5 separate regions of the Homo sapiens genome follow, and all the other regions are linked to region 2. Evidence: promoter capture Hi-C in 16 types of primary human blood cells and fetal thymus (Javierre and others, 2016). All regions are on one chromosome and are shown on one strand. Each heading gives the region's core, a stretch centred on a gene start or on the middle of the fragment in contact. The rest is flanking DNA. Distances are from core to core; before and after follow the strand shown.

Evidence for each region. Contacts are between HindIII fragments. The CHiCAGO score rates a contact against its expected background, and 5 or more counts as called.
Region 1: a fragment that was not itself captured here is called in contact with the fragment with the promoter of MBTD1 in region 2 in 1 of 17 cell types (neutrophils); the score reaches 6.1 in neutrophils.
Region 3: a contact is called between a fragment that was not itself captured here and the fragment with the promoter of MBTD1 in region 2, in 1 of 17 cell types (non-activated CD4 T cells). The highest score is 5.2, in non-activated CD4 T cells.
Region 4: a fragment that was not itself captured here is called in contact with the fragment with the promoter of MBTD1 in region 2 in 1 of 17 cell types (neutrophils); the score reaches 5.3 in neutrophils.
Region 5: a fragment that was not itself captured here is called in contact with the fragment with the promoter of MBTD1 in region 2 in 4 of 17 cell types (monocytes, total CD8 T cells, total B cells and 1 more); the score reaches 6.7 in monocytes.

The regions. Positions count from the first base shown.
Region 1 is chr17:50,904,395-50,910,016 of GRCh38, forward strand. No RefSeq gene overlaps it. Among named protein-coding and RNA genes, the nearest start is that of TOB1-AS1, 41 kb to the left of the region's middle. RefSeq lists enhancers at 4,437-5,347, 5,348-5,622 and a silencer at 4,874-5,168. The HindIII fragment of the contact is 6,686 bases long and covers 1,030-5,622 here.
Region 2 is chr17:51,257,857-51,263,043 of GRCh38, forward strand. It overlaps MBTD1 (mbt domain containing 1), which reads right to left and starts at 2,193. Exons shown (of 17, transcript NM_017643.3): 1 at 1,979-2,193; 2 at 1,287-1,350. It overlaps UTP18 (UTP18 small subunit processome component), which reads left to right and starts at 2,690. Exons shown (of 14, transcript NM_016001.3): 1 at 2,690-3,070. The coding sequence starts at 2,729. RefSeq lists silencers at 1,931-2,250, 2,591-2,700, 3,051-3,240 and an enhancer at 3,711-3,760. The HindIII fragment of the contact is 12,089 bases long and covers 1-5,187 here.
Region 3 is chr17:50,969,503-50,975,067 of GRCh38, forward strand. It overlaps SPAG9 (sperm associated antigen 9), which reads right to left. Exons shown (of 30, transcript NM_001130528.3): 28 at 5,269-5,445; 29 at 1,205-1,354. Among named protein-coding and RNA genes, the nearest start is that of TOB1-AS1, 110 kb to the left of the region's middle. The HindIII fragment of the contact is 1,984 bases long and covers 2,955-4,938 here.
Region 4 is chr17:50,843,746-50,848,861 of GRCh38, forward strand. It overlaps the pseudogene RPL5P33. Among named protein-coding and RNA genes, the nearest start is that of WFIKKN2, 11 kb to the left of the region's middle. RefSeq lists an enhancer at 675-1,200. The HindIII fragment of the contact is 1,512 bases long and covers 1,920-3,431 here.
Region 5 is chr17:50,986,103-50,991,661 of GRCh38, forward strand. SPAG9 (sperm associated antigen 9) reads right to left here. Exons shown (of 30, transcript NM_001130528.3): 20 at 4,348-4,566; 21 at 3,575-3,770; 22 at 1,010-1,135. Among named protein-coding and RNA genes, the nearest start is that of TOB1-AS1, 120 kb to the left of the region's middle. The HindIII fragment of the contact is 2,993 bases long and covers 2,230-5,222 here.

The DNA of each region.
Region 1 (5,622 bases), core at 3,123-5,622, 350 kb before region 2:
TAACGGAAATGTTCTCTACTTTGGTTATTGTGGTAGGTATGCAAACATACAACAGTGCACCTAAAATGGGCACATTTTGTTGTGCGTAAGTTAGACCTCAACAAAGTTGACTTAAGAAATAATTCCTTCCCGAGAGCCTGGCCTACGAGGTGCGGGCAAGCAGAGAGGCCTCCCTCAAGGCACTGGCGATACTGCCAAGCTGGAAAAACGGCTCGCTGGCAGCCTGGAAAAGGCCGTTCTCTGGCTCTTGATCCTTAAAAGGCTGGAATTTCTGGCTGAACAAGAAGGCCTGGGCCCAGTCCCCAGGGGGCAGCTTCTCCTCAGCTCTGGGCAGGGTGCCCGGCCACCCCTCACACAGGTGCTGGCTTGCTGCCCAAACACAGGACCAGGGGGCCTGGGCAGGCCCCCACAGCCCTGCTGGGGGAAGAGGAGGAGACCAGCCCGTAGCCAGCCCAGCCTCAGCCCCAGCAGCCTGTGGCTGGCAGGGCCTCTGCCTACACAGCAAGCTCTCAGAGTGGGGGGATGGGAGCAGCGCCCAGGCACCCACCCAGCTCCCCCAACCCAGAGTGTCACCGGGGACCTTTACCCTGAATGGGGATGGTTTTAACAGCCCCTAGAGAGGGTCAGGGCATCTGTGACAGGACAGGGTCTGAGCCCCGGACTTTCACCTCTCAGCCCAGTGCCCTTTTCCCCGCAGCAGCCTAAGCTCCCAGTGATTCTCTGGGGGAGGGATTTCTGATGGGGCTGGTTCTAAAGAAAAGCTCTCCAGGGCAGGGCCTGTGAAACCCAAGGACTGACTGCTGCGGGGGCTGGATAGCCTTTGGGGACAGAGGAGGGGAGAGGGTGGCAGAACCTAAACAGCTGCGGCCGCTGCTTTGTCCAAGGGCAACCCAGCCTCCCAGGTGTGGCCATCACCTCTGCCTCTGACCTGAGTCTCAGACCAGAGCCAGCTGAGGCCTGGGTGCTCCCTTCAGCCCCTTCTGGTTCTGCAATTCAAGGCCCAGTTAACCCCCTGTGGGGTCATAGAGAAGCTTGCAGAGGGTGAAGCCTGGGACCTGATTCTGCTCACCCTGGACTCTGGCCCAGCCAGTGCCTTCTGGCAACAGGGACCCTCTGGGGTCCCAGGAGCCCTGGAACCTCCTCTGCTCCCTCTGGCTCTGTCTCCTGCCCCACCCCCTTCCCTGTTGCCACCTGCACCTGTTTTTCCAGCCTTGCTCAATCTCTCCAATCCACAGGCTGTTTGTTCCCAGGGGTCGCCTCCCCTTATCTCCCAGGCAGCTGTTGGCCATGGCCTGAAGGTACAGAATTCATTGTTAACTCTTCAGCTTCCCTCACACACTCCACCCCCAAAAACCATAGCAGCAAAGAGCACCAGGGAGGGCCCAGGTTTGGGGTCTGGGGTCTGGCCCTCCCTGCTGTGTGACCTTGCCTCATTGTGTGACCTTGAGCTGGTCACTTACCCGCTACACTTCTGTTTTCTCATTGGTAAAATGAGAGCATTTTACCTTTTTATTACCTCAGCTCTGTACCTCTTCCCCCGCCACACACACACACACTCACAAACTCTTTCTCTCTCTCTGTCTCTCTGTTCTTAAAATGTAGGGCTATCAAGTAACACTCATCCAATAATTATTAATTCAGGAGCTGATTTTTTTTTTCCAGACAGTCTCGCTCTTGTCCCCCAGGCTGGAGTGCAGTGGCTCGATCTTGGCTCACCTCTGCCTCCCAGGTTCAAGCAATTCTCCTGCCTCAGCCTCCCAAGTAGCTGGGATTACAGGCACCTGCCACTACGCCCGGCTAATTTTTGTATTTTTAGTAAAGATGGGGTTTTCCCATGTTGGCCAGGCTGGTCTCAAACTCCTGACCTCGTGATCTGCCTACCTCGGCCTCCCAAAGTGCTGGGATTACAGGCATGAGCCACCATGCCCGGCCAGGAGCTGATTTTGTATGAAGCAAAACTAATCAGAGCTTCTGAGCAGCATGTCCTGGTTTTGTTTCATACAAAACAGAATCCTGAATGAGTAATTACTGAATAAATGTACATTTATCATGTCCCTCATAATTCCAGCAATGAAACTTGACATTTTAGTTAAGCCAGTGTACCCTTCTCACAGATAAATATTCTATTTTCTGTTAGGATTTTATAAAGATAAAAAACAGCAACAGGTCTCTTTCTCCCTGCTCTTTTCTGATCTGGGGTGGGGTGTGGGGAGCCAGGAACAGGTGATCTTCCAGACCCCTTGTATTGCTGGGTTAGGAGGCCCACGTGTGTTCCATTGGCGAATACACTAGTCAATCATTAGGCCCATCATCAGTCCCACCTACCAATGCCTGGCCCCCATCAAAGACCAGTACAGAATAGAGAAGGGCCAGCAGGACCGGGGCAGAAAACCCTGCTCCCATCACAAACCCTTCTGCCTCTGCCCGCCCAGCCCACAATGAACACCAGAATTCAGAGCTACTGCCAGTGGAAATGGGAAGGGACCACCTCTGTGAGCACTTTAGGATTTCTCCAAGGGATGAGAAAGACTGGTTAAGAGTTCAGGGGGGCACAGTGGCTCACACCTGCAATCCCAGCACTTTGGGAGGCCGAGGCAGGAGGATCACCTGAGGCCAGGAGTTTGAGACCAGCCTGGTCAACATGGTGAAACCCCGTCTCTACTAAAAATACAAAAATTAGCCAGGCATGGTGGCAGGCACCTGTAATCCCAGCTACTGGGGAGGCTGAGGCAGGAGAATAGCTGGAACCTGGGAGGCAGAGGCTGCAGTGAGCCAAGATTGCGCCACTGCACTCCAGCCTGGGCAACAGAGTGAGACTCTGTCTCAAAAAACAAAAAAAAAAAAAAAAAGGCTGGGCACAGTGGCTCACGCCTGTTATCCCTGCGCTTTGGGAGGCTGAGGCGGGTGGACCATGAGGTCAAGAGATCAAGACCATCCTGGCCAACGTGGTGAAACCCTGTCTCTACTAAAAAAAAAAAAAAAAAAAAAAACTCTACTAAAAAACAAAAACAAAATACAAAAAAATTAGCTGGGCATGGTGGCATGCGCCTGTAGTCCCAGTTAGTCAGGAGGCTGAGGCAGGAGAATCACTTGAACCCGGGAGGCGGAGGTTGCAGTGAGCCGAGATTGCACCACTGCACTCTAACCTGGGGCGAGACTCTGTCTCAAAAAAGAAAAAAAAATCCATTCCCTACTGGACAGTCTACCATGATGTCTTAGAGGTGCCTCAAATTCAATTTGTTTAAACCAACCCATTGTTCTCCCTCTGGGGATGGGAGGGATGCCCCTCTGGCTGAAACCCCAACCTATACATCTGACCGTCAATCACCCAGGCTCTGCCTTCTGACCCTTAACTCCCCTCAGCCCCTGTCAGGACTTCTAGGCCAGAGCTCCAGTTCCTAATGGTGTTTTCTCCTTCACCTCCCTCAGCCCAGTCCTCACCAGGGCCCTCATGGCTCATGGTGGGGGCCTCCCATCTTCCCACCCATCACCACACTGGAGCCAGGGGGCTTTTTCACATCACCTGTGATTGATCATCCGTAGCCTTGATCAAAACCTTCAGTGACTTCATGCAAGGACACAACATGTATGCGAGACAATGGGGAGAAAAACAGGGAGTAACTAAAGTTCTTGGGGGAAAGGTGGTGAACCACTAATCACTCCAGACCTTTAATTTCACAAATGAGAGATATGAGACTCAGAGACACAGAGTACCCAGCTCAAGGTCACCCAGCAAGGCAGAGGGAGATGGTGTATTTGGGGGACAGTGACGCTCTGTCCCACCTGGCATGCTGTCCACCCCCCATGTCCTCACTGGGCACTGTACTCCAGCCACATGGAGCTTCTGTGTGCCCTAAACTTGAACAGCTCTTTCACTCTACTTCCTTCCTCATGTAGGCATGTCCTTCCTCTCCTCCCCACATCCACAGTCCTAGCCACCCGCCCAGGCCCAGCTCAAGTGCTGCCTCCTCCAGGAAGGCTTCCCTGAATGCCTATGCTGACCTCCTCTGCATGCCTTCCCTCCCATCACTCAGCATTCTCAGGTTTGGTTAGAATCATTCTTGGGCATGTCCTCCAGACAGGGTGGGACTTGTCTTACTCACCTTCATATCTTCAAGAGCACCCTGCACAGTGCCTGGCCTGTCACAGGTGCTCGACAGGTATTTCTGGAAGGAATTATCATTACATTTATATTGTCATTATGCATGTCTGGCATTGACAGTTGAGTCAGCCACTGTGCTCAGTGTACGAGTCAGAAGACATGCGTCTTCAAAACAGTCCCAACGATTAGCCCCATTTCACAGATGAGGAAACTCAGGCTCAAAGGAAATTGATTGCTTGCCCTGGGTCCCACTGCTGGAAGGAGGCAGAGTTGAAACTTGACCCCAAGTGCGGCTGATTCTAAAGCCTGTGACTCTTTGTTTTTGTTTTTGTTTTAAAGACGGAGTCTTGCTGTGTTGCCCAGGCTGGAGTGCAGTGGCATGATCTCTGTTCACTTCAACCTCCGCCTCCTGAGTTCAAGCGATTCTCCTGCCTCAGCTTCCCAAGCAGCTGGACTACAGGTATGTGCCACCATGCCCGGCTAATTTTTATAATTTTAGTAGAGACGGAGCTTCACCATGTTGGCCAGGCTGGTCTCAAACTCCTGACCTCAGGTGATCTGCCTGCCTCTGCCTCCCAAAGTACTGGGATTACATGTGTGAGCCATAGCATCTGGCCCAGCCAAGCCTATAACTCTTAATCTCTGTGTTCTCTCTGCAGCAGGGATGACGGCGCTCCTGGAGGCTGGCTGGGAAGCTGGTCAGGGTCCCAGGACTCTGACACCCCCAATGGCCCTTGTAGCCTTGGGGAGTCCTGTGATCCAAGGCTGGAGGACTGAGTCCCCTCCAGGTCTCATAGCAGACGAATAGCAGCTTCACCCAGGCCTGTTTTGTCGTGGCCCCATTCAGAGGCCGCCCTCCTCTGTGGTTTAGAGCATGCCCTGGAATCCCTAGCACAACCAGGTGACGAGAGTTCCCCGCTGGCCCCCTGCCGCGGGAACACAAAGTACCTTTGCACATAACCTTTCTTTGTCCTCTGCTGGTGACGGCAAATAGGGCAGGCCCAGGGCAACGTGGTAAGGTGGCAGAAGTTTGTTTTGGACAGTGTTTGCAGCTTCTCTGTTCCCTTTCCACCAGGGGTTACCTCCTGCTGGCTGACCCCTTCCTGTGCTGCGGGCTGGAATATAGGGTTTAACCCTGTTATAACCCAGAGGAACACAAAAGGAGGAACATCAGGCTTTATGGAGAGACTGGAAATGAAGTGGAGGTTTTCCTTGCTCATGAAACCTGGCTCACCCTACAGGTAGTCCCAAAGAGAGCTTGTGATTTTCTTTCCCCTTTGGTCCCCCGACCCCTTCAGAGCTCTCTGGGAAGCTATGCTCTCTCACTGCTTTCCCTCCCCTGATCAGAGTCCCTGTGCCAAGGCTCCTGGATACTGGGGCTGGAAAACCTCCTGTCCCTTCCACCACTCCTGTGCCCTCCAGGGAAGGGGTCTGGGGTCTCGGGGCTCACCCCCACCTGTGTGCCAGTCCCTGTGCTAGGCCTGCACAGACATCAGCTCGCTGATCACTACGAGAACCTC
Region 2 (5,187 bases), core at 943-3,442:
TGGTTAAAAAGCATGACGCAACAACGTAAGGCACTATGAATAAATACTTATTCAAGACAGATGTTGCCATAATTTGCAAGGTACTCACAAGCAATCAGTATGGGGTTTTAGATAGATAGAAGCTACTTGTTATTCAGAGAAGGAGGTGGTGCAAAAAAAAAAAAAAAGTACAGCTATTTTCTTTCTAAACACTCTGGTGTTGAGGTAAACAAATGAAAAATAAAATAACAGTCTAAGTCCACAAGAGCAAAGCAACAGTCTCTAAGTTATAAGAGGAGGAGAGAAAAATTGAGTCTAACCTTTTAAATAGGAGACTGGGGCTTAAGGTGAAATTTATTTGCTGGCTTTTAAATCACATGCATTATTTCTACATTATACCTGTTATGTCTTGACACCCACTTCACCACATTAGAGAGTAATAGGTATATCCAAGATTCTTAGGCCAATAAAACTACTTTTAGAGGCAGCATAGCTCACCAAATGAAGGAGAATGTTAGAAAAACACCCAGTGACAATAGTTTCAACTATCTCAACCACCCAGTGATAAGTACTGGTGCATGCTAATATAAGGAGAATTAAAAATATTGTAAACTCTAAACAAGTATTAAAATGGTTCGTAAATTTCAAATCTCATAAAAGATAGTTACTTAAAAAAAAAAAAGAAGGAGTAAAAGCATTTGGAAGAGAGGCCCTTGGAGGAAAGACTAGCTTCCGAGGAACACAGGTCAAATACGGGTGTGGGCGGTAATCATCTAATCATCCCTCTACCAGGTGATGCTTCTAACCACTTCAGTTTTAGACATCCTTAGAAGTGATTTAGGTAATAAACAAATGTGTTTTGTGATACAAGAACCACGGAGATGACGCTGAAATTTCTAACTTCAAAAAGATGCACTCCTAAGAGAAAACAGGCACGAAATTCCCATATTGTAATTCTTTAGCTTCCTGTAGAAAAACATCTTCAGGCATGTAAGCCAGCACACTTGACACTGACCCAGCAAAGTTTTCGGCTAGCCCTCACTATCTCTCAACCCCCCTTCCTCCACTTCCCTGCTGTTCTTTCTTGGCACACAAAATATAGGCCAATGAGCAGTGGGTGGGTGAGGAGGATGTGAGAGAAAATTTGAGAAGTAAAAAAAGGAGCAACTTAACCAGGACATGAATGAGACTGAAGGGTCTAATAAGGGTAGGCAGACAACAATTAGAACTACTGAAATATGGGCTTTCCTGGGCAGTAGTGAGCTCTCAGTGCTTTTAGGGGTGTAAGCAGGGTTCAGACTACCTACCACTTGTCAGAGAGGCTGCAGAGGGGACGGCTGCTTTGGATGACCTCTAATGTCTCTTCCGACTCTGAAATGTTAGGATTCTTATTTCACAAAGGAGAACGCAATGGTCACAGAAGTCCACCGACTTGAAACCCTTTTAAATATGCAGCCTTGGAGGCTGCTTCCCAAACACCACTCCCACCTCTCCCGCACGTGCCCACCCCGCCCCCTTTCAATATTTCCACCTCCACGTGCAAACCGCCTCGCGGCACTGCCCCCAAGGCAGATAGACACCTTCCCCTGCAAAGCAACGAAACTGTGCTCCCCCTCCCCGCCAAGAAGAGAGGACTACTCCACTCTCCCACCCTGGGTGGCTAAAAAAGGAAAAGTCTCGGATCCAGCCTTTCCCCCCTAGCCAGAGCAGGGGGCGGGGGCAGGACGCAGAGAAAAACTTTCTTCTCGAATTTTTCTTCCAAAGGGTGGAGGAGATGGAGAGAACCCCAACGAGTCCAAGGCTGACGGGGTGGGGGGAGGGGAACCCCTGAATCGTTTAACGGCTGGAAGGGGGAGGGGGGCTCCGGAGGTTGAGAGGGCGTGGGATGGAGAAGCAGGCCAGGGAGCGGGGTCAGGGAGCTGCGGGGTTCCTGGGGTCGGAGAGCTGCAGGCGTCCCCCCCACCTGGCACACAAAGCGGCTGCCGCGCTCGGCTCTCACCAGATCCTTTGTGTTTTCCATCAGGGCCTCATGGGTAGGGGTTGTCCGTGCTCCCCGAGCCCGCGGCGCCCCCTCCCCGGGCTGGGGGCAGGTGCCTCTCCCCGGGACTGCGGCGACTACAGGGGGCCCCCGGCTGGGCCCAGACCGGTGGCGGGTGCAGCAGCCCCCGGATTTCCCCCCTTTAACTCGGGTGGCCCCAGGATATCAACAACATTAGCATAGCCCTCCCTCCCCAGCGCGCCTGCGCCGTGACCCGCGCCCCGATTGGCCCACTTCCCTACATACCCTCCTCTCTCGCTTCCACCGTGGGACCCTCTGCAGGCTCCGTACTCCAAGGACCGTACCAAGACGAAGGGTGGAAAGCGTATTGGGGCTTGTGTCAAGTCAAGTGGTTACAGCCAAGAGGAAAAGCAGAAGTTCCATTCAGCCGTCCCAGTGTATAGTCGGGGTTTCTTGCGCTCCTTTCAATATGTTGCAGCTGCGAAATTGTGTTGGAAAAATTTTCCACTCCAGTCACGCCGCTTCCCCCTACACCCGGAAGATTGGCCCTCCCGGAGGAACTCCCACACGGGGCGGGGCTGGGTAGGGGAGCGGGAGTTACGTAGAGGGAGGGAGTGCTGGTCACGTGGCAAGAGGCTGCGCAGGCTCCTTCCGGCCCCCGGGGCTTCGGCGGCGGCGGCCCGCGAGGGGCCTGGGCGCATGCGCAGCGAGGTTCCACGTGAGCGCCTGCGTTTCTCCTCAAACCTAACGATGCCGCCGGAGCGGAGGAGACGAATGAAACTGGACCGGAGAACCGGAGCGAAGCCGAAGCGGAAGCCCGGAATGAGGCCGGACTGGAAAGCCGGAGCGGGGCCAGGCGGGCCTCCCCAAAAGCCTGCCCCTTCATCCCAGCGGAAACCGCCGGCCCGGCCGAGCGCGGCGGCCGCTGCGATTGCAGTCGCGGCGGCGGAGGAAGAGAGACGGCTCCGGCAGCGGAACCGCCTGAGGCTGGAGGAGGACAAACCGGCCGTGGAGCGGTGCTTGGAGGAGCTGGTCTTCGGCGACGTCGAGAACGACGAGGACGCGTTGCTGCGGCGTCTGCGAGGCCCGAGGGTGAGGGAGGCCGCGGCGCGCGGGCTGGGCGCACTCGGGCGGGGCGCGCGGTGGGCGGTGAAGCTCCGGGGGGCGGAGCCTGGGCGACCTGCGGCGGCGGGGAGCGCTCAGGTGGGAGGGAGCCCGAGAACGCGGGCGCGGAGGGTCGCAGCTGCGGGTCCCTCGCCTCCCTGCTCCAGACTGAAAGTGCCTGGAGGGCGGGGACCGCGTCTTTCTCCGCCCCTGGAGGCGCCGCTGCTCGGGTATCTGCTTTGCGAACTGTGGTCGTGAGCATCTTTCGCTGCTGCTCGACTCCGCTAGCCTCTTCCCAAACTGAGGGTGGTCTTTTGATCACCTGCCTCAGTTCCTTGTGATTCAGGAATTCGATTTCGTTGATGGAATCAATTCGTGGGCACGGGCCTGGGCATCTCCGTTGTAACTATGTCCCCATGTGACTATGAGACCCACCATGTTTTGAGAATGATCGTGTATTCCGTTCATTTAGCAAATATTGGTGAACCTGTTAGTTGCCAGATACCCTTTCTGGCAATGGCAAACCCTGCGTGATTGATCATACTTTTTGCACACATTTTGCTATCCCTTTAAATTCTATACCAGGCTTTTCTTGAGAGAGTCCCGGACATTGTTCTAGGCACTGGAGGAGACACAGCAATGGACAAAACTGACAAAAATCCCTGCCTTTTGGCGCTTGTGTGCTAGTGGCAGAGACAAGATAGAGGAGATAAACGAGTAAACTTCAGGTTTGTTGGTGACAAGTGCTGAAGAGAAAAAAGGACATTCGGGAAAGGGAGATGGGCGTGTGTAGAGGCCTGTGAAATTTTAGATAAAGGGGGCAGAGGAAAGCTCACCGAGAATTACCCAGGCCATGTTTATTACACAAATGCTGACCTAGTTAATGTCAGCTGCTTACCAGAGCCGCCTTCGGGTGCTTGTAGGAGAAGTGGCAGCAATCTTTTTGGGAAGTACAGAACTATTACTGGAAACATGCTGAACTGTGCGACGGTTTTGTCGTCTGGAAAAGGAACAGTGTACGGAGGTGGGAGCTGTTGGGTTTGAAGGCTATTAGACTAGTAGTAGAGCAAGTAGAAACCACTTGGACATTTCTATCATTGGTTTTGGGAAGCTCAAACTCACTTCAAGGGATATTCTGTGGTCTAGGTTTAGATTTTTTTTTTTTTTTAGACTCGCCCTGTCGCCCAGGCTGGAGTGCAGTGGCGCCATCTCGGCTCACTGCAACCTCCACTTCCTGGGTTCAAGCGATTCTCCTGCCTCAGCCTCTGGAGTAGCTGGCATTACAGGCGTGCGCCACCACGCCTGGCTAATTTTTTTTTGTATCTTTAGTAGAAACGGGGTTTCACCATCTTCGCCAGGCTGGTCTCAAACTCCTGACCTCGTGATCCGCCCGCCTCGGCCTCCCAAAGTGCTGAGACTACAAGTGTGAGCCACCGCACCCGGCCTAGGTTTAGATTTGATAGTATAAACTTTATGGTATAAATTTATAACTTTAGAATTTAGATTTAATGGTATATTTATTTTTTACTTATTTAGAGATACGGTCTAACTTTGTCACCCAGACTGGAGTGTAGCGGCACCTATTAGTCTTCCATCTCCCTTTTGCTAATAGTAACTGGTTGCTCTTCTTGTTGGTCACAGATAAATTACACCTGCACAATTCTCCGAACACTTTAAACTCAGAAGTCAGCTTCATCCTCCTAGGCTCAAGTGATCCTCCTGCCTCTGCCTCCCAAGTAGTTAGCTGGGGCCACAGGTGCACACCACACACCCAGCTAAATTTAAAAATTTTCTGTAGAGACGAGATCTCCCTATGTTGCCCAGGCTGGACTCGAACTCCTGGGCCCAAGCAGTCCTCCCACCTTGACCTCCCAAAGTGTTGGGATTACAGGCATGAGGCATTGCGCTCTCTGCTGGTATAAAGTTTCTTAAGGAGGTAGGGGGTCAAAAACAGATTGGGAAAATGGAGATATCTTTGACTCTAGTTTGCCTCCGGTCCTGTAATTTCTGTAGTTCTGACATTTCTCCTCCTTTTTTCATCTGCAGACTCATCTTTTGTTCTTGTCTTACTTGGTGTTTTCCTTCCTGCGTGTTGAGTGTTGACT
Region 3 (5,565 bases), core at 2,697-5,196, 290 kb before region 2:
CTTCACACAACTCTAATCACATTGCTCCTATAGTTCTCTTTTGCTTGAAAGATAAAGTACAATCTTCTTAATCTGGTATGTAAAGGCCTCCCATACTCCAGTCCCTCCCTCCCTTTTGACAACAAATTCATACTTTCTTCTACTCCACACTCTTGTCATTTTAAAATAGTTTTTCTTCCATTAAAATGGTTTCATATCTCTAAACCTTTGGCCAAGCTATTCTCTTACCTCGGAGTGCCAACCCCTGGTCCTCCCCACCCCATTCCCCAACCTGACCCTTTGTGCTAAGACTATGCAGTGCTGAGTCACCTCAAGCATCATTTCTTGACTTCCTTCTCTCCCTACCCTTGGAAAGAACTGACTACTCACTACCAGAGCATCAGTAACATTTTAATTTATTAACATGTCTCTATCTCTGCACTGTTCTATAATCTATTAGACGAAGGCTTTGTCTGATTTGTTTCTGTATCTCCAGTTTAAGAATGACAGGTACACAGTAGGTGCTCAATTAATGTTTGTTAGGTGAGAAAATGAACAAATGAAGTTGTTTAAGAAATATTTTTATTTCTCCATTTTGACAGAAAACCGAGGCTCTAAGAGGTTGAATGACTTGTCCAAGGCCTTCTGACCCTAAATCCTATGCTTTTCACATAAAACTTCACATTGACCACATCCTGCTATTTCTAATGCTCCTTTCAAACAAATACATTTTGGTATGAAAAGAAATACCAAGGGCCGGGTGCGGTGGCTCGGGCTTGTAATCCCAGCTGGAAGGCCGAGGCAGGCGGATCACTTGAGGTCAGGAGTTTGAGAATAGCCTGGCCAACATGGTGAAACCTTGTCTCTACTGAAAATACAGAAACTAGCCAGATGTGGTGGTGCATGTCTGTAATTCTAGCTACCTGGGGGGCTGAAGCAGGAGAATCACTTGAACCTGGAGGCAGAGATTGCAGTGAGCTGAGATCATGCCACTGCACTCCAGCCTGGGTGACAGAGTGAGACGTCATCTCAAAAAAAAAAAAAAAAGAAAGAAATACCAAAAAGAAAAAAACAAAAAACAAAAACCCACAAAATCCTTTCGTGTGTAAAGAGCTCAAAGAGAACCTCTTATAAATCATTATCAGAGTGGTTTCTTATTTACTTTGGGACAAAACCCAAGTCATAGCACACAGTGCAAACTGAGCACCCAGAACCAATGACATACCCATTCGGAAGTCGATGTAGCCCTCTCCTCCACTGATGACAAGCATAGACTTCAAGGGCGTCTGACTACCAGGCTCCTGTGCAGATGGCCCTGCTTTGTCACCCGTCAGATCCGTGCCACTACTGCTACTTTGTGGGCTGATGACTTGACCTGTTTTATACAGAAACAAAAGTGAATATTACTTATCACAGAAGGGAGGCTGTTTTGTTTTTTTTTTTTAAGTATTTTTAGAGTTAAACAAAAAGGTAAATATATTCTAATAACCAAATACTGGGGAAGCTAGAAGGCTCTGCATGATCAGAAAACATTTACATGAAGGTTTTAAGAACCCGATTTGAGGTCAGGCATGGTGGCTCACACCTTCGAGAGGCCGAAGTGGGAGAATCACTTGAGGCCAGGAGATTGGGACCAGCCTGGCAAATATAGTAAGGCCTCATCTCTACCAAAAAAGTTAGCCGGGAATGGTGGTATGCGCCTGTAATCCTGGCTTCTTGGGAGGTTGAGGCAGAAAGATCACTTGAGCCCAGGAGTTCAGTGTTGCAGTGAGCTGTGATGCGCCACTGTACTCCAGCCTAGGCAACAGAGCAAGACCTTGCTTCTAAAAAACAAACAAACAAACAAACAAACAAACAAACAAAACCCAATTTGAAAATCTAAGTAAAGCAATTTTGTAACAAAGCAGGAATAGGCCCCAAATCCAATATGAGATATATGCATGGCAAGGTGGGTCTTAGCTGCCTGCTTCAAACTACCTTTTTTTTTTTTTTTTTTTTTTTTTTGAGATGGAGTCTTGCTCTGTCGCCCAGGCTGGAGTGCAGTGGCACAATCTTGGCTCACTGCAACCTCCGCCTCCCGGGTTCAAGCGATTTACCTGCCTCAGCCTCCTGAGTGGCTGGGACTACAGGCACGTGCCACCATGCCCGGCTAACTTTTTCAGTAGAGACAGGGTTTCACCGTGTTAGCCAGGATGGTCTCAATCTCCTGACCTCATGATCTGCCTGCCTCGGCCTCCCAAAGTGCTGGGAATACAGGCATGAGCCACTGCACCTGGCCCAAATTACTTTATTTATTTATTTTTGAGACAGAGTTTCGCTCTTGTGGCCCAGGTTAGAGTGCAATGGCGCGATCTCGGCTCACTGCAACCTTCGCCTCTGGGGTTCAAACAATTCTCTTGCCTCAGCCTCCCAAGTAGTTGCGATTACAGGTGCCTGCCACAACGCCCGGCTAATTTTTGTATTTTAGTAGAGATGGGGTTTCACCAAGTTGGTCAGGCTGGTCTCAAACTCCTGACCTCAAGTGATCCACCCACCTAGGCCTCCCAAAGTGCTGGGATTACAGGCATGAGACACTGTGCCTGGTCTCTTAAAAATTTTTAATGAAGTCTTGCTATGTTTGCCCAGGCTGGTCTCAAACTCCTGGGCTCAAGTGATCCTCCTGCCTTGATTTCCAAGTTGTGGAATTACAGGTGTGAGCCACCATGCACAGCCTACCTGCTTCAAACTATTATAGTCTAAATCTTTTGATCTGAGAAGACAGTGGAAAAGGTCTCTCCCTTGAAAAGGAATGTGCTTATTTGTGTAAGAGACTGAGAAAAGTCTTCAACTTAAGCCCTATGAGTTTGCATAGTCATAATTAACATTTAAATTTATTTCAAATCTATGGCTTTCCTCTCATATTTAAGGAAAATACAGGTTATTTTTAATTTAGATTATGCAAACAAAATTACTAGTAAATGTGCTGTTTGTTCTAAAGCTTAAGTTCTAAGGTAGAATCCTTGAGTGTGAAATAATAGAAAGAGAGAAACCTTTAAATATTATTCACAACTATGAACAAATGAGCAATCTCTAAGCCAACCCTCTTAGCAAGATTTAATTGTGGGATATTTTTTTCCTTGTCAGAATCTGCTGTCCTTTGGTCAAACTACACAGACTGCGCCTCCAGGAGCTAGCTGGACAGCCATTAATGCGACACACTGTAACAAAATTAATGTATGTTGAAAGTGGATAGGATAGTCTGACGTATCCCCACAGGGATTCATTCATGCATTACTCAATTATACTTTGGAAGAAATCAAGCATGCCAGCAATGACTTCTGTTGGTAGACGAGTTAGTTCTGCCACAGAAGCAAGAGCACAGTGGTATTACTGATAAGGCCAACCAGAATGGTTTAATCTTTAGGGCCAACTGGCCTCGCAACAACCATGTTGCTAATTCCACTTTTAGATTTATACCCAACAAAAAATCCTTACACATGCACACAAGAAGGTCTGCTTCAGTATTGTTTTTAATAGTGAAAAAAGAAAGGGGAGAAGCCTAGAGGTCCATCAACAGAAGAATGAATAAAATGTAGCACTTTTATTCAGTTATAATACCAGTTAAATGAATAAACTAGATTTTTATGTATGAACATTGATAAATCTCAAAAAATGAGAAGCAAGTTGTAGAAGCATACATATAAAACACAACATTTAACATGTAAAGTCCAAAACCACAAAACAATCATACATTGTTTATAAACACATTCAAACATAGTAAAAATACAAAAACAGGGGCAAGAGGATTTGCATCGACTTCAAGATAGTGGTTACCAATGGAGAGGAAAAGGAGAGGAGAATGGGATTGGAGAGGGATACAAAGGAGATTTAAAGGAAACTGTGATATTTCATTTTTTTTTAAGCAAGAGAAACACTGTTACCAGCAATCCCATTTCTAGGAAGGAAATGACTATACAAATATATAAAATGTACAAATGAGGTTTCAGAAAGCTCATTATCACTGTTGTTAAGAATAACTGAATAATTGCTTAGGGTACCATATGCCAGCCCTTGCCCCATGTACATAAAATCATTTAATCTTTGGAAGACCCTTGGGAAAATAAGTATGATGAGTAATTTGACGTGTTAGCTCGATACCCAGATATTTGGTCAAACACCAGTCTAGATATCATTGTAAGTCTTTTTTAGATGTGATTAACATTTAAAACAACAGACTTTGAGTAAAGCAGATTACACGCCACAGTGTGGGTGGGCCTCATTTAACCAGTTGAAAGCCTTAGAAGAAAAAGACTGAGGGATCCAGAGGAAAGAGAAATGTTGCCTCCAGACTGCTTTCAGATTTGGACTGCAACATCCACTCTTCCCGGGGTCTCCAGCCTGCCAGCCTGCCCTGCAGATTTCAGACCTGCTAGTCCCCACAACTGTGTGACCCAATTTCTTAACAGTAACTCTCTCTTCATACGCACATACACATGCATCCTATTGGTTCTGTTTCTCTGAAGAACCCTGACTAATATACTACATCACACAGTTAGTTGGTGGGGGAAAGTCAGATCTGAACTTCGTCTAGCTCCTAAACTTGCCTCTTATGGGAAAAAAAAATTCAAAACCTGTGTCCTGCTTACAGATGGTCAGTGACATCACTTAAGTATTGTCAATGGATAATTTGTCATTTTTCACTGGACATCATCACTTCCATCTTTTTTCTGGGTGGTGCTTTATAGCTCCCAGTAGCATTTTCATTAATTTTCATAACAAATGAAGTAGGCAGAGCAGATATTAATCACATCCACCTAGGAGTGAGGAAATGAGTCTCTGAGGTTAAGTGCCTTGCTCGAGGTTAGTGGCAGAGACACAGGGGCCAGACCCCCAGGCCTCCTAGTTCACTGCTTTTTCCTATTAAGCTGCTAAAGGTACCAGAGTGCATTCTCTCTTCCTCCATGCAGCCTTGATGATAGAAGCTTCTTTCTAGTGATTTCTCTTATTAGGTCAAGACCATTTTTGGCAATCCACGATGATAAAATAATACTACTGCTTTTCAAAAGTAAGCAAGTCTCCTAAAGAAAAATCAACAAATTTATCTTTGGGGGTGGGAGAGATATTCCAAAGTAACTTCATTCAAGTATCCCTATAGCACCTTAGTCACACCTCCATTACAGAACTTCCTTCGTATATATTGAAATTACCTGCAATTCGAGTACTTAGCCTTAGACTATTAGGTAGTGGAACCAAGAGATGACAGAAGAGAGACAATTACATGGAACATCTCAACAGAATAATCTAACATACCTGGGACTGCCACAAAGAATTTCACAGCATCCCGGTGCCCATGGAAGCAAAGCTGTGCATGTGCCATTGAACAATAGGGTATAAATGTCCCTGGAGTCACTTTATCACTGTTTTCATCACCATATACACGGATTACACTTCCAGGACGATTTCCTGGTACACCTGAGGTTTTATTTGCTGCAACAGAAAAACCAAATACCAAATATTTTCCCCTAGAAAACAGTAATGAATGTAAGAGGTTACTGGTTAATCCTTATGATATTATCTAAAAGCTACAGCCAGTTGAGATAAAACAAG
Region 4 (5,116 bases), core at 1,426-3,925, 410 kb before region 2:
CTGGCGCCGAGTGGCTGCCCCCTGCCCCCTCCCACCCTCGGCAGCTCTCAGCTCAGAACAGACCCCAGAACCGAAAGGCCTCCCCTCACGTTTCTGGGTCTGGGGCTTTGCAGTTTCAAATGTTTTATTCTATTGCTCACAGAGTATATCCAAAGTGAACACCCACTATAGACTGATTTGGGGTTCAGAAAATATGGGCACTTAGGGAATGGGTGGTTTCGAACCTATTATAACTTCTGACCTACTACCTGGCATTCATTTTCTATCCTTGAAACCAAGCCGGGGTCCTTTCTTTCTGTTACCCTAGGCCTTATACAAAGCCTGGCATCTAGCAGGAGCTCAGGAAAGGGTGGATGGAGCTCCCAGGGCCTGGTTGCCAGCCAGTCTCGGGAGGTTGCTTTGCTCAGTCAAATCGAGGAGATTTGGCCCCAGCCTAGGTCCTGGGACATAACGAAATTGAGGCCCCTTTATCCAGGCTAGACTCACCTGTCTCCTGTCTGCCCTGGATACTCACTCCTCACCTTCCTGCACCCACTTGGCTCTCTCCTTCCTGTTCTGACCCTCAGTTTGCCTCTTCAGAGGACTATTCCCGAGCGGGCCTGTCTCCAGATCAGCCCCCAGGGCCTCTGGGGCAGGGCAGCTTGGCTTTTTCCACCCTCCGCCTCCCCCAGCACCTCCAGCCTGCTAGGACACTCTGCTCCATTGTCTAGCCAGCCGCTCCGTAGTCTGATGTCACCCCCCGGACAGTGGGGCTGGAGAGCAGGGATGGGGTGAACCCTGACTAGAGTCCACAGCATCGGTGATTGCCTTAGGCCGTGGGGAACTCCCTCCGTCCCCTTGTCCTATTGTAAAACAGCAGCATGCTTGCGCACGTCCTATGTGCCAGGTACCAGCTCTTGTAAGCTCCACTGCAACTGGAGGAGACAGAAGGCTATTTTGTAGGTAGGAAAACTAAGGCTAGACGGGATAAGAAACTTGCCCCAAATCGGATGAGTGGCAGAGCCAAGACTTGAATCCTGCCAGTCTGACTTCAGAGTTTTTGTTTTGTTTTGTTTTTGAGATGGAGTCTCACTCTGTCACCCAGGCTGGAGTGCAGTGGCATGATGTCAGCTCACTGCAACCTTCGCCTCCCGGGTTCAAGCGATTCTCGTGCCTCAGCCTCCCTGAGTAGCTGGGATTACAGGCGTGTGCCACCATGCCTGGCTAATTTTTGTATTTTTAGTAAAGACAGAGTTTTGCCATGTTGGTCAGGCTGGTTTCGAACTCCTGACCTCCGGTGATCCGCCTGCCTCGGCATCTCAAAGTGCTGGGATTACAGGCATGAGCCACCGCGCCCAGCCCAGAGCTCTTAATGCTCATGTTATGTTGTTTCTCCTAGTGTGCAACACACACACACAAACACACACACACCCTGCTCTGGGCTGGGCAGTGTGGAGTCCTATCAGGACCCCAAATATCTCTAAAGAGACTGCCTCCCATCAGCACACACATACCACTCAGGGCTGTTTACAACCTCACCCTGTGACAAGTATTTCTATCACACACACAAGCAGTCCTGGCCTAGATTCATCAGCCTTCTGCCTACTCATCCTTCAAGACTCAGCTCCTTGGGGAAGCCTCTGCTGTCCCCCGGCTGTGTGAGCACTCCTCTCTGAGTCCCTCTCCCTCTGTGTTTGTGCTGATCCAGATCAGAATCATTGCCTAGGGCCTCCAGGAAGCTGTGGGCCCAGCTCTCAGAGCTCATGGGGGTGCTTGCTGGGTGAAACAGAGGGTCCTGGGACCAGGGGCCACTCAGCGCTGCTGCACTGAACAACCACAAGCCTAGAAGGGGCCTCTCTGGGGTCCTCCCTCTTTTTCCCAGCTCCACCTCATGTTGCCTCCTCCTCCTCCTCTTCCTCCCACCTCTCTGAAGAGTCTGAAGCTTCCCTCCTACTCTGGAGAATTTGTGATTAATGCAGGCGGGATGGGTGGCAGGGTTCCTGGGCCCTATTCTTGGCTGTGGCCTCATTCTGGAATGTGCCCTGAGGTCAGGTGACACTCCTCACTCAGGCTGTGTCAGGAGGAAGGAAGAGTAAACCTCCAGCTGACATCTCCTGAGGGAGAGGGCAGGGTGGGCAGGTGGGCAAGCCCCTCACCCCTCTCCTGCCTGCCTCCCAGGCTCCTGAGGCCCTCGACCCATTTCAGGGTCACGTTGGAGTCCCTGCGGTCCCGTCCCAAATTACCCCGGGACACGGTACTCCACTAGGTCTCCAGCAATACTCTGGCCACCCTCAACCCCACTCGGATGAGGGAAAGCAGAACCCAGCCCAACATAGACTAGCCTCTCCTGGAGGTGGGGCCTCTTCCCAGGTGTCTGTCAGGGGCAAAGGGGGCACTTGCGTGCTTTCGGCCCTTTTCAGGCCTTGAGGACACTGCCAGAGACCCGACGGGAGGAGGTGGACCCATCCAGATAACTTGTTTTCTGTTTTGATGTGAGGGATGCATCCAATTCTGTCCATAGTCTAAGTGAGAGCAGACGACGGTGACTTTATCTCCTTTCTGGGTGGGTAGCCTGGAAGCGAGGAGGGGCCTAGGGTTTTCTCAAGGACCCTGGGCAGGGGAGAAGCACAGTGCCAGGAGTGGGGTGGACATGAGAATGCTAACCCCTGCGCCAGGCACTTTACGTGGACTGCCCGGTTGAATCCTCCCAACCCTCTGAAGGCACCATATTATTTTACTATTTCACCACTTGGCAGATCACACTCTAAGCTGCAACCTTCAGGAGGGCAAAGACCTATACACCAAACACAAGCCTGACCATGTTCATTAAGTGTTTGTCGAATGAATGAATGAATGGGGCAAGCCCTATAGGCTTTATGGAGGAAAAGAGGCCCTCATAGGTGCTATTTTACAGATGCTGAATCGGAGACTCTAAATGTTTAAAGGACCCAAGGCTATAGGGTCATTAAATGAAAGAGCCAAGATTCAAAGCCAAGTCTGTCCGAATTTGGTACCTGTACCCTTATCACGATATTACATATGTATTTTAACCATCGCAGTTAAAGGCTGAGGACCCCAAATGGCGGTTCCCCTTCTAAACACCCATAACCACCACTTCCAACTGGTCCTTGACCTCTGGGAGTACCAAGGGTTTACAGAAATTTTATAAAGCCATACCCTTCAATACTGTTAGTACTGAATTCATGTAAATGAATTTAAATTAAATAAAAACGTAAAATTCATTTCCTCAGTTACGCTAGTTATGGATCAAGTGCCATGTTTCATGTGGCTGGTAGCTGCCATACTGGACAACACAGACAGAATATTTCCAACATTACAGGAAATTCTATTGCACACCCCTGTTACAAAGGATTGACACAAATTTCTCTTTACTCCCATTGTCTCATGACCCTGATCTCAGCCTCAGTATGCCCTCATCTTTTCTCCTGAAAAGCTTATACATCTTTTTTCTTTTCTCTCTTTTTTTTTTTTTTTTTTTTTTTTGGAGATGGAGTTTCACTCTCTTACCCAGGCTGGAGTGCAATGGTGCAATCTCGGCTCACTGCAACCTCTACCTCCTGGCTTCAAGTGATTCTCCTGTCTCAGCCTCCCAAGTAGCTGGGATTACAGGCGCCCACCATCACACCCGGCTAATCTTCATATTTTTAGTAGAGATAGGGTTTCGCCATTTTGACCAGGCTGGTCTCGACCTCCTGACCTAAGTGATCCACCTGCCTCGGCCTCCCAAAGTGCTGGGATTAGAGGTGTAAGCCACTGTGCTTGGCCAGGTTTATATATCTTCATGCAAATAAAGTTCTTGATGGCCTCCCTCAATACCCCAGAGTTCCCAAAAAGGGACACAAATAAGTGCGCACACACACGCAGCACCAGCAGTCATGACACGCAGGTGAAGATGAGTTCTCCAAACTTTTAGCTGAATATGGTAGGGGTGCTGCTGATGGGAAGGAGACAGTGGGAATGAGAGGCTAAGTCCTCCCATGGCACAGCACAGTGCCCATGACAGCTGCCGCCTCCCAGGAATCAGCCTGCCACCAGGCCAGTTATTCAGCAGCTTTTCAGAGACACCTATGCTGCAGCTGTCATCTTGTTTCTTGCATGGAAGTGCTGACTAAAAGTCTAATAATTATTTTGTTAGTGGTCATTGCTGCTATAAGTGTGCTGCATAAATGTTTAAAAAGAGGGCCCAGGGGGCTCTGTTCTGCAGGATGGGGGTGGTTAAAGACGTCAAGAACTAGGCCTACTTTAAGAGATACACGTGAAATTTAGAAAATGACAAGAGGGTAAAACTGATTACTATCTTTGGAAACCCTTGGTGATATAGGATAAAAACAAGTATAACATGCCCAAATACAGGAAAAGTCATGTAACTAATAGAGATATCATTTGTCAGATTACTTATGCTCACATAGAAGGGGATATGATAGTCTGTACAGCTTATGCACATGAACTGCCAAAATGCAATGTGAAGGTTGGCCTGACAGATGACGCTGCAGCCTGTTGTACCAGCCTGTGCTGACCTGCAGGCTTCTCAATAGGTTCGGCATGGACAAGATCTATGATGGCCAAGAGAAGGTGACCAGAGATGAATTATAATGTGGAAAGCATTGATGGTCAGCCCGGTGCCTTCACCTGCTATTTGGATGCAGGCTTTGCCAGAACTACTATTGGCAATAAAGTTTTTGGGGCACTGAAGGGAGCTGTGGATGGAGGCTTGTCTATCCCTCACAGTACCAAATGATTCCCTGCTTATGATTCTGAAGGCAAGGAATTTAATGAAGAAGTACATCAGAAGTACATCATAGGTCAGAATGTTGCAGATTGGATGCATCACCTAATGGAAGAAAATAAAGATGCTTACAAGAAAGAGTTATCTCAATACATAAAGAACAGTGTAACTACAGACGTGGTGGAGGAGATGTGTAAGGAAGCTCATGCTGCTATACAAGAGAATCTAGCTGTGTTAGTCTGTTCTTGCACTGCTATAAAGAAATGCCCAAGACTGGACAATTTATGAAGAAAAGAGGTTTAATTGGCAGGCTATGCAGGAAACATAGCAGCTTCTGCTTCTGGGGAGGCCTCAGAAAACTTACAATCATGGCAGAAGGCAAAGGGGAAG
Region 5 (5,559 bases), core at 2,476-4,975, 270 kb before region 2:
TAACTTTTGGATGACAGAGTGGCCCACATAGGGAGTGGCAAACTATGGCCTACAGGCCAGATCCAGTCTGCCACCTGTTTTAATCCAGCCTGCAAGCTAAGAATACTTTTTACATTTTTAAAAGTGTGTGTGGGGGGGAAATCAAGGGTATTTTACGACAGGGGAGATTTATATGAAATTCAAACTACAATGCCCATAATGCTCTACTGGAAGAGAGTTACACTAAGTTTGCCAACTCTTCACTTTATAGTATTGGACTCATATGAAAAAGACATACTACAGGTTGAGTAACCCTTATTTGAAATGCTTGGGATTTCTGACTTTTTCAGATTTTAGAATGTTTACATCATACATAACAGTTGAGTATTCCTAATTCAAAAATCCAAAATGCTCCAATGAGCATTACCTGCCAGCATCATAACAGTGGTCAAAGAGTTTTAAATTTTGGATTAGAGATGCTCAACAGTAATCTTGCTTAACCTTTGTAAATGCACAATTTTGTAAAACTCTCCACACAACCGGAAAGTGAACAAACCATATAATATTAGTCATCATCATCTGACTTTGCAGATTGTGATTTGTTTTACCTATCTTAGTAAAAAATTCACTAAAAGTTGGGATTGGGCCTTCCTGCAGCCAAAATGTTGGTTTAATCCCTGTTTTCCTGCCCACATTCTAGCCTACATAAATTAAATATTCTCTGTCTTTGTGCTGTTCAGGATCTTCTATTTCTGGAGCACCTCGATTTTAAAATTTTACATACCTCTTCTTCCAAGAATATTATAGAAAGGGAACATTCTGTGACAAAGAAACATATGGCTTACTATTCAGAACCAGTGCAAGTCCAGTTTATGTGGTAGTTGCAACATAACATCAAATTGTGTGTATATATAAAATTCTTTGCATTAATCCACACTTTTTGTATTTGTTTACCATATTTTACTTATCTTCTGATTTCAAAAGCAAAAGTAAAACAACATATTCTAATGTTAAAAGCATTGACACCTACCAGCCATTTTGAGCTCCAAGCCACATAGTTGGTAAAAGACTACTCATTTTCTGGGCTTCTTCTCTCACCAAGTCTTGTTCATTTGGCAGTACTGATATTTGATCTTTATATGCATCTGAGTCATTGCTGGAAAGGGAGGGCAAAAGGAAAGAAATCTGAGTATACTTAACTATCGTTATAGTTTTCAGGGACTGAATCCTTCTATATTTAAGTTTGTTCATTTGTTTATTATTTATTTATTTTTTAGAGATAGGGTATCACTCTGTCACCCAGGCTGGAGTACAGTGGCACAATCAGGGCTCACTGCAGCCTTGACCTCTCAGGCTCAAGTGATCTTTCCACTTCAGCCTCCTGAATAACAGGGACTAGAGGCACACACACTATCACACCTGGCTTCAACTTTTAGTCAAAAAAAAAAAAAGAAACCACCAAAATTCCAGAAAAGCCAAAGTCAAAAGCTTACATCACATATTTCAACAATTGTACCAGAAATAACATTAACAAACTAGGAAGCCCAAGGAGCAGAAAAGATAATAAGACATGGTAATGAAATACAGCAGTTAATATTCAGACAATTACTATGGCTGTCTCTTATTTTGGGTTTTGTCATAGTTTCTTCTCAAGTGAGAGAGAAGGGAGGGATACACACATACAAATAGTAGGGAGAAATATAAAGAATGACCTAAAATAAATTAATAAACTGAAATATGTTTAATATTCTATCACAAAACCTTTCCTTTGAATTGTCAGGGCATATTTAGTAAAAGATATATAACCAGGCTATCAAATTCAAACATGACTTATTCTTAAATTAATAATTCAGGCCAGGTGCGGTGGCTCACGCCTATAATCCCAGCACTTTGGGAGGGTGAGGTGGGTGGATTTCTTGAGGCCAGGAGTTCAAGACCAGCCTAGCCAACATGATAAAACCCCATCTCTACTAAAAATACAAAAATTAGCTGGGTGTGGCAGCACATGCCTTCAATCCCAGCTACCTGGGAGGCTGAGGCAGGAGAATCGCTTGAACCTGGAAGGCGGAGGTTGCAGTGAGCTGAGATTGCACTGCTGCACTCCAGCCTGGGTGACAGGGTGAGATTCCATCTCCAAAAAAAAAAAAGAATTAAATATTAACCCATTTATGCCGGAGGTTGCAAATTTTTTTTGTAAAAAATCAGACCTTAGCGATGACCTTGAGCAGTAGGATATGAATAACTCCCACAAGCTTAGCATTCCAATAATGGACCACTAGGCATAAATGGGTTATTAATTAATCTTTCTTACTTTATACACTAAGAATATTAAACTTTAAAAAGGATCTAGTTTAAAGAGACTCTCATCTAGAGGGGATCTAGAAAAGGCAGGAAAGAAAATAAAATAATTCACTAAATGGGCCTAGATTAACCAACCCTTTAACGGAGGAGCCTAAAACAAACAGTTTTCTTTGGTTTGTTTGTTTTCTGAGACAGAGTCTTGTTCTGTTTCCCAGGCGGCAGTGCAGTGGTGATATCATGGCCCACTGTAGCCTCCAGCTCCCAGGGCTCAAGCAATCCTCCCACCTCAGCCTCCTGAGTAGCTGGGACCATAGGTGCACGCTACCACGCCCAGCGAATCATTAAGTTTTTTGTAGAGATGAGGGTCTCACTATGTTGCTCAGGTTGGTCTTGAACTCCTGGACTCAAGCAATCCTCCTGCTCAGACTCCCAAAGTGCTGGGATTATAGGCATGAGCCACTGGAACTATCTGAGTTGTTTTTTAATAAAATATTTGCATGAAAACTAAATTCAAAAAGGTCATCCACACCCATGTGGGAAACTTGTACAATGGCAGATTTAAACAATGGCCAATTTTGCTGATAACTGGAGTGAAAATTAGAGTAGGGGTGGGATTAAAATGACAAAGAATTACTTATAGAATGGAAGACAGTAAGTACAAAAAAAAAGAAAAAAAAACAGATCAGAGGAGAAAATGAACAGAAAGATTTTGACTAATATATAGTCACACACCTGGTAAAACCATTTTGGAAAATGATGGACAGAATATATGGTGGTGGTTCCACAAGATTATACTACTATATTTCTACAGTACCTTGTGCATGTTTACATACACAAATACTTACCGTTATGTTCCAATTATCTACAGTATTCAGTACAGTAACATGCTGTACAGGTTTCTAGCCTAGGAGCAATGGGCTATACCATATGGCCTAGGTGTGTGATAAGCCATACCATCTAGATTTGTGTAAATGCACTCTATGATGTTCACACAATGATGAAATCACCTAATGACACATTTCTCAGAACATATCCCCATTGTTGACTGATGCATGATTATACTTTTATAGATAAGATTTTTTTTTTAAATTGGAAGGTGTACAGAAGAAATGGGGGGGAATATCCAGCGAGAATGATGGAGCGGGAATACATGAAATTATCACAAGAATAGGTATCTTTTAATCCACCACAGTGACACTAATTAGTGGAAATCTTTTGACTGTTTGAGATTATTTTGGTTCCTTTTATTTGTGCACTTCACCCAGTTGCCTAAGTTGATGACCCATTATTATACCTCGACTGATACACTGGGGAGAGGTCTTCTGGGATCTGAACTCCCAAAGGATCTGTAAAGACATGCTCTGTGTAGACGCCAGTTTGGGAGATGTCCACTGTGTCTTCAGCTGACCCCGCATTCCCTTCTGTAGCTTCAGTTGCTTCTTCTGCTGTTGGAACATTTTCATCAACCTCACTATTTTCTGCTTCCATTTCTACAAAGTAAATAAAACACTATTCCAAGTCTGGGCTTTTCTCCTCCAATTATTTCCCCACACAAACCCCTGTTATAGAATTCCATTCCATCTACCCACTCCTTCACACTGTACCATGAAATTAAGAATTCTTCATTCCATTTAACAGTCATTACAGCATTTTTTTTTTTTTTGAGACAGAGTCTTGCTCTGTTGCCCAGGCTGGAGTGCGGCGGCGTGATCTTGGCTCACTGCAAGCTCCACCTCCCAGGTTCACGCCATTCTCCTGCCTCAGCCTCCCGAGTAGCTGGGACTACAGGCACCCGCCACCACGCCCGGTTAATTTTTTGTACTTTTTAGTACAGACAGGGTTTCACTGTGTTAGCCAGGATGGTCTTGATCTCCTGACCTCGTGATCCACCCGCCTTGGCCTCCCAGAGTGCTGGGATTACAGGCGTGAGCCACCACGCCCGGCCTACAGTATCTTCTTTCAAGTTCTTTCAACCTTGTTACTTAAGATCTAAATTAAGTCCATAATGAGGCATCTGAGTGTAGCCTTAGACTCTATACAGATGGCAGGTAAAGAGAATGGATATACCTGGTGGTTTATCCATCACTGGAGAAGCACCATTTGTACTAGGGGAAGTGGCAGCTCCCGTCACACCTTCTGCAGAACAACCAACCACTGTGATGCCTCCTAACAGGCTGTCTGTCTCTGCTGAGCTGTTGCTTGTCATACTTCCACATAAAGATGCTTTGTCTACCTGACCAGATTCTGAAAGATCTTCTCCTGCAGGGTAGTCTGTTTCTCGTGCACCTGAAAAATAAATCTTCTTGTAACAGCAAAGTAAACTTCTATAAATAACATTTTTTTTACTAAAACAATTACAGGTTTGAAATGAGAGTTATGCAGGTGAGATGTACAGGTAGTTGAATACAGGTAGCATTAAATTTACATAAACAAATCTTCACAATATGGGAAGGTAACTTAAAAAATTAAGAAAATACTTCTATTAACACAAGTGCAAATAAACATAAAAATGTCAGAAAATAAACTTTTTTTTTTTTTTTTTTGAGACAGAGTCTTACTCTGTCGCCCAGGCTGGAGTACAGTGGCATGATTCAGCTCACTGCAACCTCCGCCTCCTTGGCTTAAGTGATTCTCCTGCCTCAGCCTCCTGAGTAGCTGGGACTACCGGTGTGAGCCACCACGCCTGGCTAATTTTTGTATTTTTGGTAGAGACAGGGTTTCGGTATGTTGGTCAGGCTGGTCTTGAACTCCTGGCCTCAAGGGATCCACCAACCTCAGACAAGTCCTAGGATTACAGGTGCGAGCCACCACGCCTAGCCAGCTTCTGTTCTTAGTGAGCTCCTCAGCAGCCACAGGTTAAAAACAATCTATTATATCTGACAACATCAGCCAAAAAAAAATTCTTTTAAATCATCAAGACTACTGCTACTACTTGAAGTATAAGCTTCTATCCATTACTGTTAAAAATTAAATGCCCCAAGTATATAGGTTGATTAAGATATTAGTAAAACATTAAAAACTAAGCATTTATAATATAAAAATATTTACAATATAAAAATAAATCTCATTTTTTAATTTAGAAAATTGTTTTATTTATATCACACTAAAAACTTTTATTGCAGTAAAAATAATATATATATAAACAAAATTTGCCACTTTAACCATTTAAAAGTGTACAATTCAGTGGCACTAATATTTACAATATTGGCATTAATATTTATAACATTGTGTAGCCATCACCATTATTTTTTTTTTTTGGCGACAGAGTTTCACTCTTGT